Regions from separate parts of the Homo sapiens genome. Here region 2 is linked to region 1. The links are contacts of gene promoters, found by promoter capture Hi-C in blood cells and fetal thymus (Javierre and others, 2016). All regions are on one chromosome and are shown on one strand. Each heading gives the region's core, a stretch centred on a gene start or on the middle of the fragment in contact. The rest is flanking DNA. Distances are from core to core; before and after follow the strand shown.

The links. The method cuts DNA at HindIII sites, captures the fragments that hold promoters and counts their contacts. A CHiCAGO score of 5 or more calls a contact.
Region 2: a contact is called between a fragment that was not itself captured here and the fragment with the promoter of ENOX2 in region 1, in 1 of 17 cell types (total CD8 T cells). The highest score is 5.8, in total CD8 T cells.

Annotation. Positions count from the first base shown.
Region 1 is chrX:130,899,121-130,906,817 of GRCh38, reverse strand. ENOX2 (ecto-NOX disulfide-thiol exchanger 2) reads left to right here and starts at 3,609. Exons shown (of 15, transcript NM_006375.4): 1 at 3,609-3,769; 2 at 5,087-5,134. RefSeq lists enhancers at 3,394-3,583, 3,204-3,723, 3,594-3,863, 3,724-4,243. The HindIII fragment of the contact is 1,854 bases long and covers 3,120-4,973 here.
Region 2 is chrX:129,842,097-129,849,793 of GRCh38, reverse strand. It overlaps ZDHHC9 (zDHHC palmitoyltransferase 9), which reads left to right and starts at 5,908. Exons shown (of 11, transcript NM_016032.4): 1 at 5,908-6,098; 2 at 6,468-6,535. RefSeq lists an enhancer at 1-287. The HindIII fragment of the contact is 971 bases long and covers 4,155-5,125 here.

The DNA of each region.
Region 1 (7,697 bases), core at 2,360-4,859:
TATATAAAATTTCTGTATGGCTTATTGGAGATATAGATATGTTTTATATATTATATATAAAATTTCCATATGGCTTATTGGAGATATATATATGTGTGTGTGTGTGTATTTATATCACCATACAGAAATAGCCATACACAGCTGTGACATACACAGTAAGAAATATTACTTATCACAGCTATGTATTTTAATTATTTATCTTGTTTGTTGATGGCTTCTTCCTAACAGAATATAGCCTCCAAAGGGAAGGGATGTTGTATGTGTTTTCCACTTCTCTATTCCCAGCATCTAGAATAATGTCTGGCACATTATAGGTACTCAATAAAAACTTGTTATATTGATGAAGGAGTAATTTCTTCTTACTATTCTGTCCTGCTACTTGACCTCTCTGTAATATATGCCAGTAATTCTACTTTGTTTTCTCTTGGTTCATCTGTTTGGGCATTCCCTCTCAGCTTCCTTGGAAGGCATCTCTTCTTCTACTTGCTACTTGAATATCATTATTTTCCAGGATTCCATAATCTTTGTCTTTTTAAAAACTATTATTCTAAATACTCTCTAAATTGGCTGGGCACAGTGGCTCACGCCTGTAATCCCAGCACTTTGGGAGGCTGAGGCGGGTGGATCACTTGACGTCAGGAGTTCGAGACCAGCCTGGGCAACACAGTGAAGCCCCATCTCTACTAAAAATAAAAAAAAAAATAGCCAGCTGTGGTGGCAGGCACCTGTAATCCCAGCTACTCGGGAGGCTGAGGCAGGAGAATCACTTGAACCCAGGAGGCAGAGGTTGCAGTGAGCCGAGATTGTGCCACTGCACTCCAGCCTAGGCAACAGGGTAAGAAACCGTCTCAAAAAAAAAAATACTCTCTAAGTAAAGTTTAAACAATTTTTCACTTATTTAATTGCCCTCTATATTATACTAATGTCTCCCAAATGTTTAGTTCCAAGCAAGACCTCTCTCCCAAGCTTCCGACCGGCATTTCTCAGCAGCCTATCAGGCATCTCCAACCAAAAGTTCCACAGACTCTTCAAATTTTAAATGTTCAAAACTGATTTCCTCCTATTCTTCACAAAACTTGCTATTCTTTCTAGGTTCAATATCTCAGTGAATGGTACTACCATACACTTAGTCTTCCAAGTCAGAACTTGGGAGTCGTAATGGACTCCTCCCCGTCTCTCACTTTCCACATCTACCAACTCCATCTGATTATTCCATTTCCTGCTAGAAATACTTTGATGAACAGGAACCCATGTTTTAACTCACCATTAAAACCCAAAACCTGTCATAGTGTATGGAACATAGTAGGTGCTCTGCAAATACTTTGAAATCAATGATCAAATCAAAGTAAAGAGTCATGGAAAAAAAGATAAAAAGAAAGGAGACAAAGCTGAGAAAAGAAATTCTGCATTTGATTCACACAATGTTTTTCTGGTGGCCATAATACTGAAAATGCCTTGTTTCACTCCTTTTTATGGCTGAAATGAGGTGATTTTTCTTTTTCTCTTTTTTCTTTCTTTTTTTAATTTTTTAATTTTTTTTGAGACAGAGTCTTGCTCTATCACCCACTACACTCGAGTGTAGTGGTACAATATCGGCTGACTGCAGCCCTAACTTTCCAAGCTCAAGGGATCCTCCTGCTTCAGCTTCCTGAGTAGCTGGGACTACAGGCATGCGCCACTATGCCTGGCTAATTTTCTTGATTTTTTGTAGAGACAAGGTCTCATTATGTTGCCCAAGCTGGTCTCGAACTCCTGGGCTCAAGCAATCCTCCCAACTTGGTGTCCCAAAGTGCTAGGGTTACAGGCATGAGCCCCGGCACCCAGCCGATTTTTCTTTTTTTAAAAAAGCAAATTATTTTCCTGGAGGAATTTAAAAGTATAAAAAGTATTAAAACATAATATAGCAATTCAATTACCACCCTCCAGAATGATTCCCCATAATACCCTAGCTATGTGTTCCCAGTATGTTCTATGTGTATATGCTTTAAAAAATAAACACTATATAAGCACAAAAATTCCTCTGATGGTTCTCTCCCACTTTCAAGTTAAATTATGAACTAATTGATATGACCCCTTGTTGCTGCCTGATCTAGTCTCTGCAATATGGAACTTTTGCTATTGTTCTCTGCACTCTTTCATGCCTTTATGCCTTTGCATATGCTTTGTATAGAATATGGTTGACCTCCCTGCCCCAAATCTGACAAATATTTTACTGGTTCTTCAACCAGTTCTCCAGAAGTAGAACAAGTTCTTCCTCCTCTATGTTCCTATAGAACCCTATGTAGACTTCTTTACAGCATTTTGCACATTGTATACTCATCTATTCCTCCCCCCAGATTCTCCTCTACTACAACTCCCCTCACCTGGATTTTGAGCTACTTGAGGGTAGGGACTATTTTTCCAATTCTGTGGCAACAGTGCCTAGCCCAGAGCTTTGCACAAAGCACTATGCTGAATAAATGGTTGAATTTATTAAATCGTCTTCCTCCTTCACTTATCTTTTTAAAATATTGGGCAATTACCTCAGCAAAATGCAATTCCCCTGTCTTTCCCTTCATTTTACTCGTGAGTCGAAAAGTTGTCCTCATCAAGAAGTTGTAGTAATTCAACTGTAACAAGGCTACAAGGATTCATCTCTAACAGAGAAAAAAAAAGGTCAAAAGTTGGGAGTGAAATTAGCCCTAATAAACAACCATTTTCCTCAACCTTTAAGTCACTTGGAAGTGCTTGGCATTCCCCACCTATGTCTTTATCCAGCTCTTGTAACATATTTTTACTCAAAAGGTTAAGTTTCTTAAAGACACATATAGTTACTCGTTTGTACTTAAGTTGTATTGTCTATCTGTTCTAAATTGTTATTTATAGCAGTTTATGTGGCCACTGTTTTTCATGGCAACAACATAGCTTCATTATGGATTAAATAGGCTTCTTCTGGGCTGGTGTAGATCACATTTCTATGCCTATTTATGACACTGTTTCCAGGGGGAACTATAATTTCCAATTAGAAAAAAATATATACATTCTTCCATACCTTTCAAGTGATTTTAATGCAGGTGGTTCACAAGGAACACACTTTAACAATTTTAAAGGACTATAACTCTCAATTAAAATTCTAAGCTTACCAAAGAATAAACATCATCTTTTGAAAAACACTTAAAACTCAATAACAATTTCAAATCACGATAGAAAGTGCTTCCCGCAAAATGCTAAGAGCTTAACCGACATGAAAATAAATCTAGAGCCTTCGTCTGTCCCCACAAGCACAAACCCATAACCCCAAGAGAGATTCTCTAGACAGTGCACCCAAACTACAATACCCAGAATACCCTTCCCCGTCTGAACGCTGGGGACAATCGGAAGGGGAGGGGAAGAATTGTGCGTATAGAGAAATAAGTGTCCCGCAACTCCATCTCCCATAATTCTCGGTCCTCACTTGTGTCTGTCTGCCAATGTCAACACGAGTTACCCCCAGGAAGAACAGCCTCCAGCGACCTCAAACTACATTTCCCATGAAGCCATGGGCTCGGGCCTCCGGCTTCCCCGGTGACCAGTAGCCAATAGGAGACGCCGCAGTGGGCACCCTGTGTGTGAGAGTCCAGCCTTGGGCCAGAGTGCCGGGTCTAGGCCTGGAAGCGCGAGGCGGGCATTTCGGAAGAGAGTGGCGCGGCGTGGGGCGCCGCGAGGGCACTACGAGCCCAGGAACTGCCGCGCCGGCCCGATTTTCCGCGGCTGTATAAGGACTAGCGCTTCGGTAGCCGGGGAGCTGGAGGTCAGAGAGGCAGAAAGCCCCGGTGGCCGTGGCTGGGGACTGTGGGACTGAGGGGGCCTAGGGAGGAGGGTGCTTCCGGGGCCGCGGTCCTCAGCGCCTAACTCCACCCAGCTCCACCTCTGCAGGGGAGGGGGTATCGGGACTGGGAGTCGGGGGTGGGCTTTTGAGCTCTAGGCGCCAGTTCTCTTGAGCCCGGGAGCGCGCTGTCTTTGCTCTTTTTTTTTTTTTTTTTTGGTCCAACTCGCCCGCCCCTTTTTTTTTTTCCCACGACGCCGCCCCCCTCCCCCTGGCTCTGTGCCTCCTCAGAGGTCCGAAGTTGGGGTTTGCGTCCAGGGTTTTGCCTAGGCGGTGACTGGACTCTAATTCTTACCGCAGGAATTGGGTGATCTCTTTCCTCTTTTCCCTCAATTTGTATTTCAGGTTTGGGCACATAACCCTCCCTGCGCTACACTCCCCATTTTCTTTGGGGCATGGGAATTCCTTGCCACGCTCAGGGCGTGACTTTTTTTTTTCAAACTTTCTCTTTTTGCCTCCTTAATTGATCGCCATCTCTTTACTGGCCCCTCAGCCACCTGCCACTTCCCCCACCAGGTCTTTGAAGTGGGGAGAGTTTCCCCTCAATTTCTAGAAGGGATGGGAAGCAAAAGAGGGAAGGAATCTTGCTTTTGAGAAATGTGTGTTTAAGGTTCAGTGCAGGGTTCTGGTGAGAGTAAAAGGCAAGTTAGACTGGTTATAAAAATCCAGCGCTTTAGGGGTTTCCAGCAAAGACTGATAGCACTAATGTTGACAAACATTTAGGGGGCACACCTTTATTCTACAGAATAAAGTAGACCGTGTGAAACAGACCATATTAATCATTGTATTATTACAAACGTGTGCAAAAAACGCTAAGAGGGGTCAGTGGAAGAGCATACTGATGGGGGTGGTGAGTTCATCTATGGAAGTTCAAGCCTAACCCGGGAAGTGCTGAAGCCCTCATCCGGCTTTCAGGCTTTGTGAAGGAGGTGAATTTTAATCTGGGCTCCAGCAGAGTACAGGGGATTTGAAGTTGTCAAAGAGGAGGGAGAAAATGCTTCCTGCTACTGAGATTGGACTTTGAGAAGGGTAAACAGAAGAGGGAGCACTGTGAGACAGGTGGGCTTGCCTGATTGGAATAAAAGATATCAGCACAAATATACTGGGAAATAAATAGGGTGGAGAAGCTTGGGGTCATAATAACATGATACTTTGAAACATACACATAGTTTGGATATTATTCTGTATCAAATAAAATTGAAGGCAAAAATTAAGATTGGATGATTTTTCTTTTCATCCTAGGGAACCTGATTTGAGATCAATTCTTGGAGAACACAAAGAAGTGTGATGGTATGTTCCAGGTGTGAGTTTAAATCCAAGAAGAAGCTTGTCTTGCAGATGTTTTGTTTGTAGCTATTCTTAGCTACAGTCTATAGCTGTCAACTTTAAAGCCTAGAGACATCGATATATTTTCTTAAGAAATGCATTTGCTGTCCCCGTGCATCACATTATCTGAACTGTAGTCATCTCATTGGGTGACAATAATGACTGCTATTTATTGAACCCACATAATGTCCTAGTCATCATCATAAATACTTTGTTGCATTATCTTGAGTGTTATGAAGTAGGTACTATTATTCCTGTTTCTTTTTCTAGAAGAAAACACTAAAATGCACAGAAGTTAAACAATCTACTTAAAGTCACATAGATTATAAGTTGAGTTGAGGTTTGGGTGTACAGATTTCTGACTCCAAAGCCCATGCTCTGTTCAACATGGTTTGCTGCTCCCAATGTTCTTTCTTGTTCTTGACTTTCCAGTTGTGGTAAGGAGAGATAGGTATAGTTCATCATCCTGGCCAAAACCCAAATGATTCACTTAAAATTTCTATGTCAGAATGTATTTGCTGTAAAGTAGCTGCCAAAACCAAATTAACTGTCATTGCAACTGTAGCTAATTGTGTCTGCCAAAACCATAGTCAGTACGGCTATTTCTGAATTAGATGATTCTCTTTATAACACATATCATACCTCTAAGCTATTTGGACCTTGATAGCACTTTGGATGTATTTTATTTTAGCATTTTAAGAAGTTACCTGGGACACTAGATCTCTTTCATGACCTCTGCCCACGTGAAGTGTTGGAGAAACAATGAAGTACAAGGTGTGAACTCTTCCTGGGGTCTAGCTGGGGAGCTGGATGCCCACAGTTCTGAGATACTGTAGTGTGTAGTATAACAGAGACAGGTACAAAATGCTATGGAGGGATAAAGGAAGGTGTGACTCACTGTAAGGGAGACTCGGGGAGAAGGCTTCCATGAGGAGGTGACATGAGATAGGTCTTGAAGGATAGTGAGTTTGCCCCAGGCAGGGAAGGAGTGGAGGGGAGGCATTTCAGATAGAGGAGTCAGTCTGTGAAAGATGTGTGGCTGTATAAGAGTAGGGCATGTTCATTCAATGTGGAAGAATTCAGCATGGTTGGAGTGCAGATAGTTGAGTAAAAGGAAACTGTAATGGGTAGGAGAAGAGTCTGGAAAGAGGTTGGGGCTGATTTGCAAAGAACCTTGATTGCAATCCTAAGTTGGAATGTGCCCCCATAGGTCAGTGGTTCTCAAAACGTAGGGCATCTGCCAGTGGTAGTTACACTGTGCTCCCACAAACATTTTAATTTTACTAGTTACATGTTCAAATATGTCTTAAAAAACATAAAACTGAACTAAGCCATCACATCTAAGATTACTTTGGATTTTACTTCATAAAAATAGAAAGTGAACCAGTTTTCAGTTCATTTAAAGACAAATATTAAGTAGTAATAGTACACATTGTGTGTGAATATGGTAAAAATCACTAAGTAATACTCAGACTGAAATTTGGGAAGTGCTGCTTGTAGGCCATAAGAAACCATTAACATGTTTTAGAAGAGCACCACGATCAGATTTTTACTGTAAGGAAAATGACAGTGGGAAGGATACAGTGGAGGTGGATATGATGAGGCTGCTACTCTGTTCCACAGAGAGACAATAAAGACCCAAGAGTAGTGACGTGAGCGGAGCGAAGAGATTTGAGAAACATTTAGGAGGTAAAATTATTAGGACTTGGTGGATGTTAATATTATTTTGTCAGTGTTACCAGAATTGTTTTAAAAGTCTGCATGCCCCCCTTGCCTCTTGTCCTTTATATTGTATGGTGAGCAATAATATTGCCAAAACATGCTATGTTTCTATGTTCATTAAGATTACAATGGAAGCTATAGTTACCACTCGAGTGGATTTGGATTACACACAAACATCCTTCCCACCTTACTCAGTGTCCTTGAGAGCAGTAGCACAAATATTCAAGGCACTGATTAGGAATATGACCATGATCTGTGACCCTTAGGCATGCAAGAAATTCCTCAGCCTTTAAGACTCAGCTCATATGTCAACACCTCTGTGAAGCCTTCCCGACAGCCCTTGCCCAACATACATGAATGCACGCACAAGGCAATGTTAGGCCTCGGGCTTCCACAGGACCCTGCACTTAGTTACCTCCGTCCTAGCCTGTACCACACTGTAGGGTGTCGGTCTGTGGATGTCTCTGTGTTCCCCACTAGACTGTGAACTCCTTGAGGGCAGGGACCAGGTTTCATTCATCTCCATACCCATAGCATCCAGAAGAGCACTTGACACATGGTAGTCACCTAATAAATGGTTATTGGGTGAAAAGAATTGATAAACAGATTTGCATGAATATAACTGGGGACCTTGGTAGCACAGAGTGCCAAATGCTATGAAAAGACTAGCTGTTTGCTACATTTGCTACTTTTGCTGAAGAAAGGAGTAAATTAAAGTGCCCATAATTTCATGAAAGACCTACTTTTTCCCTCTTTTCTTCACTCTCCCCTGGTTATCTTACCTTTTTCTTTCCTATCATTTACC
Region 2 (7,697 bases), core at 3,391-5,890, 1.1 Mb after region 1:
GAGACCGTGGGGAGAGGGAGAGGGAGAGGAGGGAGAGGGAGAGAGAGAGGGGGGAGAGGGAGAGGGAGAGGGGGGAGAGGGAGAGGGAGAGGGGGGAGAGGGAGAGGGAGAGGGAGAGCCAGAGCTGCTTTTTTAAAAATTTTTTTTTATTTTTTATTTTTTCTGAGACGGAGTCTCACTCTGTCACCAGGCTGGAGTGCAGTGGCGCAATCTCGGCTCACTGCAACCTCCGCCTCCTAGATTCAAGTGATTCCCCTGCCTCAGCCTCCCGAGTAGCTGGGACTACAGGTGCGCACCACCACACCTGGCTAATTTTTGTATTTTTAGTAGAGACGGGGTTTCACCATGTTGGCCAGGCTGGTCTCAAACTCCCGGCCCCAAGCAATCCACGCGCCTCGGCCTCCCAAAGTGCTGGGATTACAGGCGTGAGCTAGTGTGCCCGGCCTCAAGAAAATATTTTAATGTAAAATTTCCATTGAAATATTCCCACATATAGGAAGGCAGTGGTCTGCTCTTTTCTGTATGAATGTTATATACCATTATTTTTAATAGTTGCATAGTACTGTACTATGTAGATTTCCAATAGTTAATGGCCTTTTTTGTTTGCTAATTTTTGCAATTACACATACACAATTATGCACATTCACAAACAATTGCAATGTGTGTAGTGAACATCTTTGAACATATATCTTTGAACATTTGTGCGAGTATTTCTAGATAGAAGTAGGATTGTTGGGTCAGTGGTTGTGTAATGCAAAAATGTTAAAAGATACCGCCAAATAGCCCTGCTGAAAGATTTTTACCAGTTTACTCCTCTACCAATGGTATTCGAGAAGCTACAACCCTTTGAGGCAAGATCTCCTTAAGAAGTTGGAGACTCTGCTATGCATAGTTGAGAATTTGACTCTGCACTGTTTTGTATTTATCTTTAATGACTTCATAGGTGCTAGTCTTTTTGCCCCTAGAATATTTTAAGTTCCTTGGAGGCTGGGATCATGTCATATACTTCCTTGGTATTTCCCATATTGCCTAGTACAGGCTGAGCAAACTATGGCTGTTGCTTAATACATACTTCATGATTGATTGATAAACTGGTTCTATTTTTGGGCTGCACAGTGATTGAGGTGAGCTCTTGGAATGAGAGAGCTGGGCAGAGTCAGAGACTAGGGCTGTGCCGGGTCAGTATCAGATGCTGTCACTTGCACATCAAGTTTAGACCGTAATCTGAGAATCTAAATGTATAAAGCACCTACTACAATCCCTGGCTCAGAGGAGGTCCCCAATAAATGATTTCTATTGCTGTTATGATTCTCTTTTAATGAGAGGATTGTCTTAGGGCTACTGTTGAGGGTTCAAGCATAGGACCTAAAGCCATCCCAGGCAGAGTCAGAAATCCACAGTCCAGAGATGAAGTCAAATTGGGAACCAGTGGGAGCAGCCAGGCATCTGAGGCAGAAACAGAGACCTGCGTTTGGGCAGTTCACTTGCATTGTGATGAACACTTTCCTGGCCATCCCAGGCTGTTTTTTGGGGGGCTTTCTGCATGTTTGGCTTTCATGCAAAAGTATCTTTTTTGTTTGTTTTTGAGACGGAGTCTTGCTCTGTCGCCCAGGCTGGAGTGCAGTGGCGCAATCTCAGCCCACTGCAACCTTTGTCTCCCGGGTGGAAGCGATTGTTGTGCCTCAGCCTCCCAAGTAGCTGGGATTATAGGCACCTGCCACCAAGCCCAGCCAATTTTTGTGTTTTTATTAGAGTCGGGGTTTCGCCGTGTTGGTCAGGCTGGTCTTGAACTGCTGACCTCAGGTGATCCACCCGCCTCAGCCCCCCAAAGTTCTGGGATTACAAGCGTGAGCCACCGCGCCTGGCCATGCGAGGACATCTTTAAGGTGCTGCTTAGTTCCCAAGAGAAGCCAACAATCTCAGCACAGGGCTGTGAACATAGGAGGTGCTCAGTGAAAGCAATCCCATTTACCTTTTGCCTGTTGAAACAGATAATGTGGCAGGAATGTCAATGATTTACTTGAGAAGAGGAGGCTAAGGATCAGCCATTCTACTAGAACAAGATTACTATCCAGGCTTTCCCCAGTCCCAGGTGGGGTAGGGGGCTGGGAAACCCAGTCAGATAAGGATTCAATTCAGTGATGAATTTAGAGGTTATGAAAACGTGGTGGTACATGGATGACAAGGACTCTATACAGTGAAGAATGGGTCTCATTTTTTCTACCTCTCTACCCCAGTCAGCAGGATGGCTAAGGGAGGGAGATGGGAGGGGGCAGTAATGGAGATGTCATTATAACATACAGCATTGACTGTGTCTCTCTTCCATGCCAGACAGTTAGCACACAATTCCCTTTATAACTCCATGATATAGGTATTAGCTTTATTTTACAGATGAAGAAATAGTCTCAGAAAGGATAAATTACTTGCCACAGGTTATACAAGCTATTACGTAGCAGAGCCAGGATTTGAACCGAGGCCTGTCTGGCCATAAGGCTTATGTGCTTTCTGAGCTACCTACCATCCTGGATCTTCTATGTCAGTGATAGCAGCCCAGGCCTCAGAGAAACAGATGTTGCTTAAGAATACTAGCTCATCATGCGTGGGTAGGGCATTCCGTGGTTCATTCTTTTGTTCATCAATTCGTTCTACACACACATGCATTTATAGCCAGAAAGCAGAAAGAGATGTGCAAGTCAGAGAGGTGGGGTGGAAAGGGCTGTGTGTGTGGGGAGGAGGGCAAAGTGACATGACAAGTTTGAGGCTACAGAAAATAGAGAATAAAGGAGCTATCATGAGCTCAAAAGCAGGATGGGGGCTGATGCTTTATGTCTGCTCCTGGATGTAGTACTGAATGGGTCTCCGGGTGGTTACAGAAGAGTCTTTGAAGCAACACTAACAGGAAAGCTTCAACCCAGTGGTGGCACTCAGGATCAAACAGCACATTACACCTACACCTACACACGCCTACACACACACACACACACACACAAACACACACACATGAAGAATAAATGTGGAGACAGGTATTTTTAAACAAATACTCCAGAACATACATGATAACACAAGGAGCTGTCTTATAAACTGGAAGGCTATACCTTGATTTTTGTGGTGTTTCTAGTGCTCATCACATGACTATAACCCCTTTTCTTCTCTCTCTTTCTTTCTTTCTTTCTTTCTCTCCCTCTCTCTCTCTCTCTCTCTCTCTTAGATGGAATCTCGCTCTGTCGTCCAGGCTGGAGTGCAGTGGAGCGATCTGGGCTCATTGCAACCTCCGCCTCCCAGATTCAAGTGATTCTCATGCTCAGCCTCCTGAGTAGCTGGGATTACAGGCACCTGCCACCATGCCTGGCTAGAGATAGGGTTTCACCATGTTGGCCAGGCTGGTCTCAAACTCCTGTCCTCAAGTGATCTGCCTGCCTTGGCCTCCCATAGTGCTGGGATTACAGACGTGAGCCACTGTGCCCGGCCTATAACCTCTTTTCAAAAGAGCCAACACTGACTTGGATGTAAAAAGTGGGAAGTCTGTTGAAAAGAGAAGAGAAAAGAATAGGAAAAAACAGTCTCAGTTTATAGTCACAATTTAGTTGTGTGTGTGTATTAAGACTTTAAGGATTATATAAAATGATGTAACTACATAGGAGGAAGTACTATGGGATGTTTGTCCACATAAATTTTCCTTATTTTTCTTTGAGTGTTGAGAATAAATAATAACAGATTGTAATAAAACAAGCCTGACTCACATAGCCACTTAGTCCGAGAGGGAATGTGACCCAGAGCAGGGAGGGACAGAGCTCAGGAATGTGTCACCATGACACATCGATTCCAGGACTCCTCAGGCTTCACCTGCACCTGAGCTATGGACAAAATATGTTTGAGTGCTACAGAGGCTTATTTTTCACTGCTCCATAGTCAGAAGGATGGCAGCTGGGGTGACCATACTATTCCTAAGGGCATCTGATATACATAGGCTTGGAAATCCACAGGGCTGATGAGGTTTAGGGAAGTTCTTCTCCCTCCCATACCAAGTGTGTGCAATACCAGCACCCTCCAGAATTCAAAGCGGGAGAATTGGAGGCAATGATACTGATCGTACACTTCATGAGGAATAAACTGTTGATCATAATCAGCATGAGTGCTAAGGAACAATGGAAGCTTTATAAAGACAAACCTTCCTTTGCAAGTTAATTACAACACATCTCAGAATTACCTAGTGTTTTTTAAATCCTTTAAGAATTTTGAAGGGTGCCATGAAAGTGTCAAATGTAATTATTATGTAGCTTTTTGTTTCATATTGTGTGGGACACATATACTGTAAAGGAAAAATAGTTCTTGACCATGTATGTGGTCCTTCAACTAACATACAACTGCCTTAGGAAGAGCTTTGGCAGTCTCTTCTGTACTAATTCCAAATACCAAATCTCTAAAACTTTGAAATTTTTATCACGCTTAGGAAAACCTAGGCTGGTAATGTAGGCATTCTCCTCCAATCTTCAACCTTTTCTCTTATCTCCTCTTACACTTGGAAAGGAGATGCCACCTTCAACCTTTTCTCATATTTCCTCTTATATTTGGAAGGCAGGAGCCATACTGGTGAAAACAGACCTAGTGTCTTTTAAAGTCACCCTATAGTATAATACTGTGGTTCTCAATTGTTTCCCCCCTTCAATCTCAAACTTTTTTTTTTTTTTTTTTAAGACAGGGTCTCTCTCTGTCGCCCAGGCTGGAGTGCAGTGGCATGATCTTGGCTCACTGCAACCTTCACCTCCTGGGTTCAAGTGATCCTCCTGCCTCAGCCTCCCTGGTAGCTGGGACTACAGGCGAGTCCCACCGCTCCCCGCTAACTTTTGTCTTTCTAGTAGAGACGGGTTTTGCCATGTTGGCCAGGCTGGTCTTGAACTCCTGACCTCAGGTGATCCACCTGCCTCGGCCTCCCAAAGTGCTGGGATTACAGGCGTGAGCCACCGCGCCCAGCCCAATCTCAAACTTTTAATGCATGCAACTCACTCGGATCAGTAGCAGTGGCTCATGGTGGCAGTAATGCAGAGCTGGGTGGCAGAAGGAAAAAATCAATCTGGTTGGTGGGTGGGAATTCTGCCTTGGATTCTCCCCTTAATCATCATAAGCTTTCCAAACCGAATAAAAATTTACAACCTTTTTGGCAATCTTTACTTCATTACCTACCTGGAAGAATTTATGTCCTCAGTGGAGTTTCTTTAACTCCATTAATGTCAATTAGTTGTTTTAGGTGCTGCAAAATGATAATACGTTCTTGGGGACATTTATCCTTTACAACATGCTTTTTATGCTTGTTTGTGTGTTTTGATTTGAAAGACTTAGAGATGCAGGCTAGGGTGACTGGGACAGATATGGGGTCCCTGGCTACTGAATGAGACTTGGGAGGCAGATGACTTGTTTTTATGCCGATAAAGAGTAAAATCTCAAGTTGCGGTTGATTTTAAAATGCAAGCAGGGCTGGAGAGGCCCATGGCAGACCTAGTTTGGGGTGAGCACCCGGATCTGTGAGCTAGTGTTGCTTCAGCATCTCACTGTGTGTGTGTGTGCGCGCGCGTGTGTGTGTGTGCGCGCGCGCGCGCGTGTGTGTAGGCTGGTTCCACCCTTTGCTGTCCCATCGGCACTACCCTTAACCTCCGTCTCTGCGTAACTATATTAATAGAAGGCAACACTTCACATACTGGCGCTCAGACCCCAAAGAGAGGCTGGCAGTGGCTTGGCAGGTGGGCATGCAGCAGGGAGATGGGTGGAGGAGTGGGCGGAGGCATCGTCGAGTGGCGTTAGGCAAAACCAATGGCAGTTCGGGATAGGGGCGGCCGGGGCGGAGGCGCCGAGGCCGATCGGCCAATAGAGGGCGAGCAACTACTGGAGCGACCTGGTGACGTGAGGAGCGTTCCATTTGGCCAGTGGTGGGCGGTTGCCACAGCTGGTTTAGGGCCCCGACCACTGGGGCCCCTTGTCAGGAGGAGACAGCCTCCCGGCCCGGGGAGGACAAGTCGCTGCCACCTTTGGCTGCCGACGTGATTCCCTGGGACGGTCCGTTTCCTGCCGTCAGCTGCCGGCCGAGTTGGGTCTCCGTGGTTCAGGTAACGAGGGGTGGGGGCGGGGGTCTCCTGGGCTCGGCTGCAGGGTGGGCTGCCTCCCCTTCCGCGGCGCCTGGAGGCGGGGACGTCGGCACCGCCCTTCTCAACTCGGCAGCCGCCGAGCCCCTGGCCCGGGGTGACTACACGTGGCGGGGCGTGTGTGAGTGTGTACGAGCGTGTGGCTGCGTGTGCGTGTGGATGTGGCGCGCGTCCCAACCTGCCTGGGGCGGTGGTCCGCGGCGTGGCGGAGTCAGGGCGGGCCTCGAGAGGCCGCGCCCGCGGCTCGGCCCCGGACTCCGGCCTCCGGCCTCCGGCCCCCCGCTGGGGAGCCGGTCGCTGCTTCCCGACGGATTTTGATCTTTGTTCTTCCAGGCCGGCTCCCCCTTCCTGGTCTCCCTTCTCCCGCTGGGCCGGTTTATCGGGAGGAGATTGTCTTCCAGGTTAGTTTTACACAAAGGACGGGTTCTCTGCACCTCTGGGCCCCCCTCCCCTTCCCCGAACCTTCTACCTTCTCGTTTCCCTGCTCCGCTCCTAGGCTGTTTTTGGACCTTTGCCCTCTCCAGCCCGCGAGTTGGCTGTTTCTCCCTCCGTCCGTCGGGCTGCAGGCTTCCGCCTCAGTCCTGCCAGCGTGGGGCATGTGGTGTCGGTAAATAGAGGCCACAACACCACACCTGAGCGGAGGAGAAGGGTAGCAGAGGCTGAGAAACTCTGGGCCTGGGAATTCAGGATGCTGAGTAGAGATGGTACTTAGGACATGTCCCAGAAAGCGCCCTTGTGACTTTTCTTAGCTGCTGCCATTCCCCACCCCCCAACCAGCCATCAGCAGTCACCAACCATTCCAGAATCTCTCCTGCTTAAGTCAGCCTTTCACCTACAGGTCTCTGATGTGGTTTCATTAAGATTCTCACAAATGTTAGGCTAGACCAGCCAGATTGTTTCATTTCCCGGACTCAGGAAGTTGCAGAGGGTTTGATGAGGGGAAATCTGTTTTGTGTAAATACAATGCACGTATGTGCACAGAGCGTCCAGAACCTCCTGGCCCTGCCAGAGGGTGACTTGTTCCCTGCTGTGATTCATATTCGAGTGGCTAATTGAAGAAAGAAGGTGAAGTGGAGGAAGGGAGGGAGGTTTTATAAGGACAGAAACTCTACTATTATTTTTAGAGTCCTTTTAATGATGTTGAAAGAACACTGTGGCATAGTGGAACATGCCCTTGACTGGAAGTTAGCAGTATCAGCATTGCTGCTGTGTGGTCCTGGATAAGTTATTTCCTCTCTCTGGTCCTCAGTTTACTCATTTACAAAACAAAGTATTAATAATTGGCACGATCACCTATAAAATCCTCTCTAGTTCCAAGGTTCTGTGATGATCAGATCATCAGCATTAGATTGGAAGCATAGAGGCTTATTTAAGAAGAAATACTAGCCCCTTTCCTTTTTTGAGAACCTTTTATCATACCTTCTTTTAGAGAACAAACACGAATTGGAAATAAACTTTTCCCACTTCCCCGTCCCCACCCCTTCAGTCAGTTTTCAACTTTCTGTCTCTGGGAAAGGAGGGTTGAACTGTATTTTCTTATTATTGCCTCATTTTTTTTTCTTT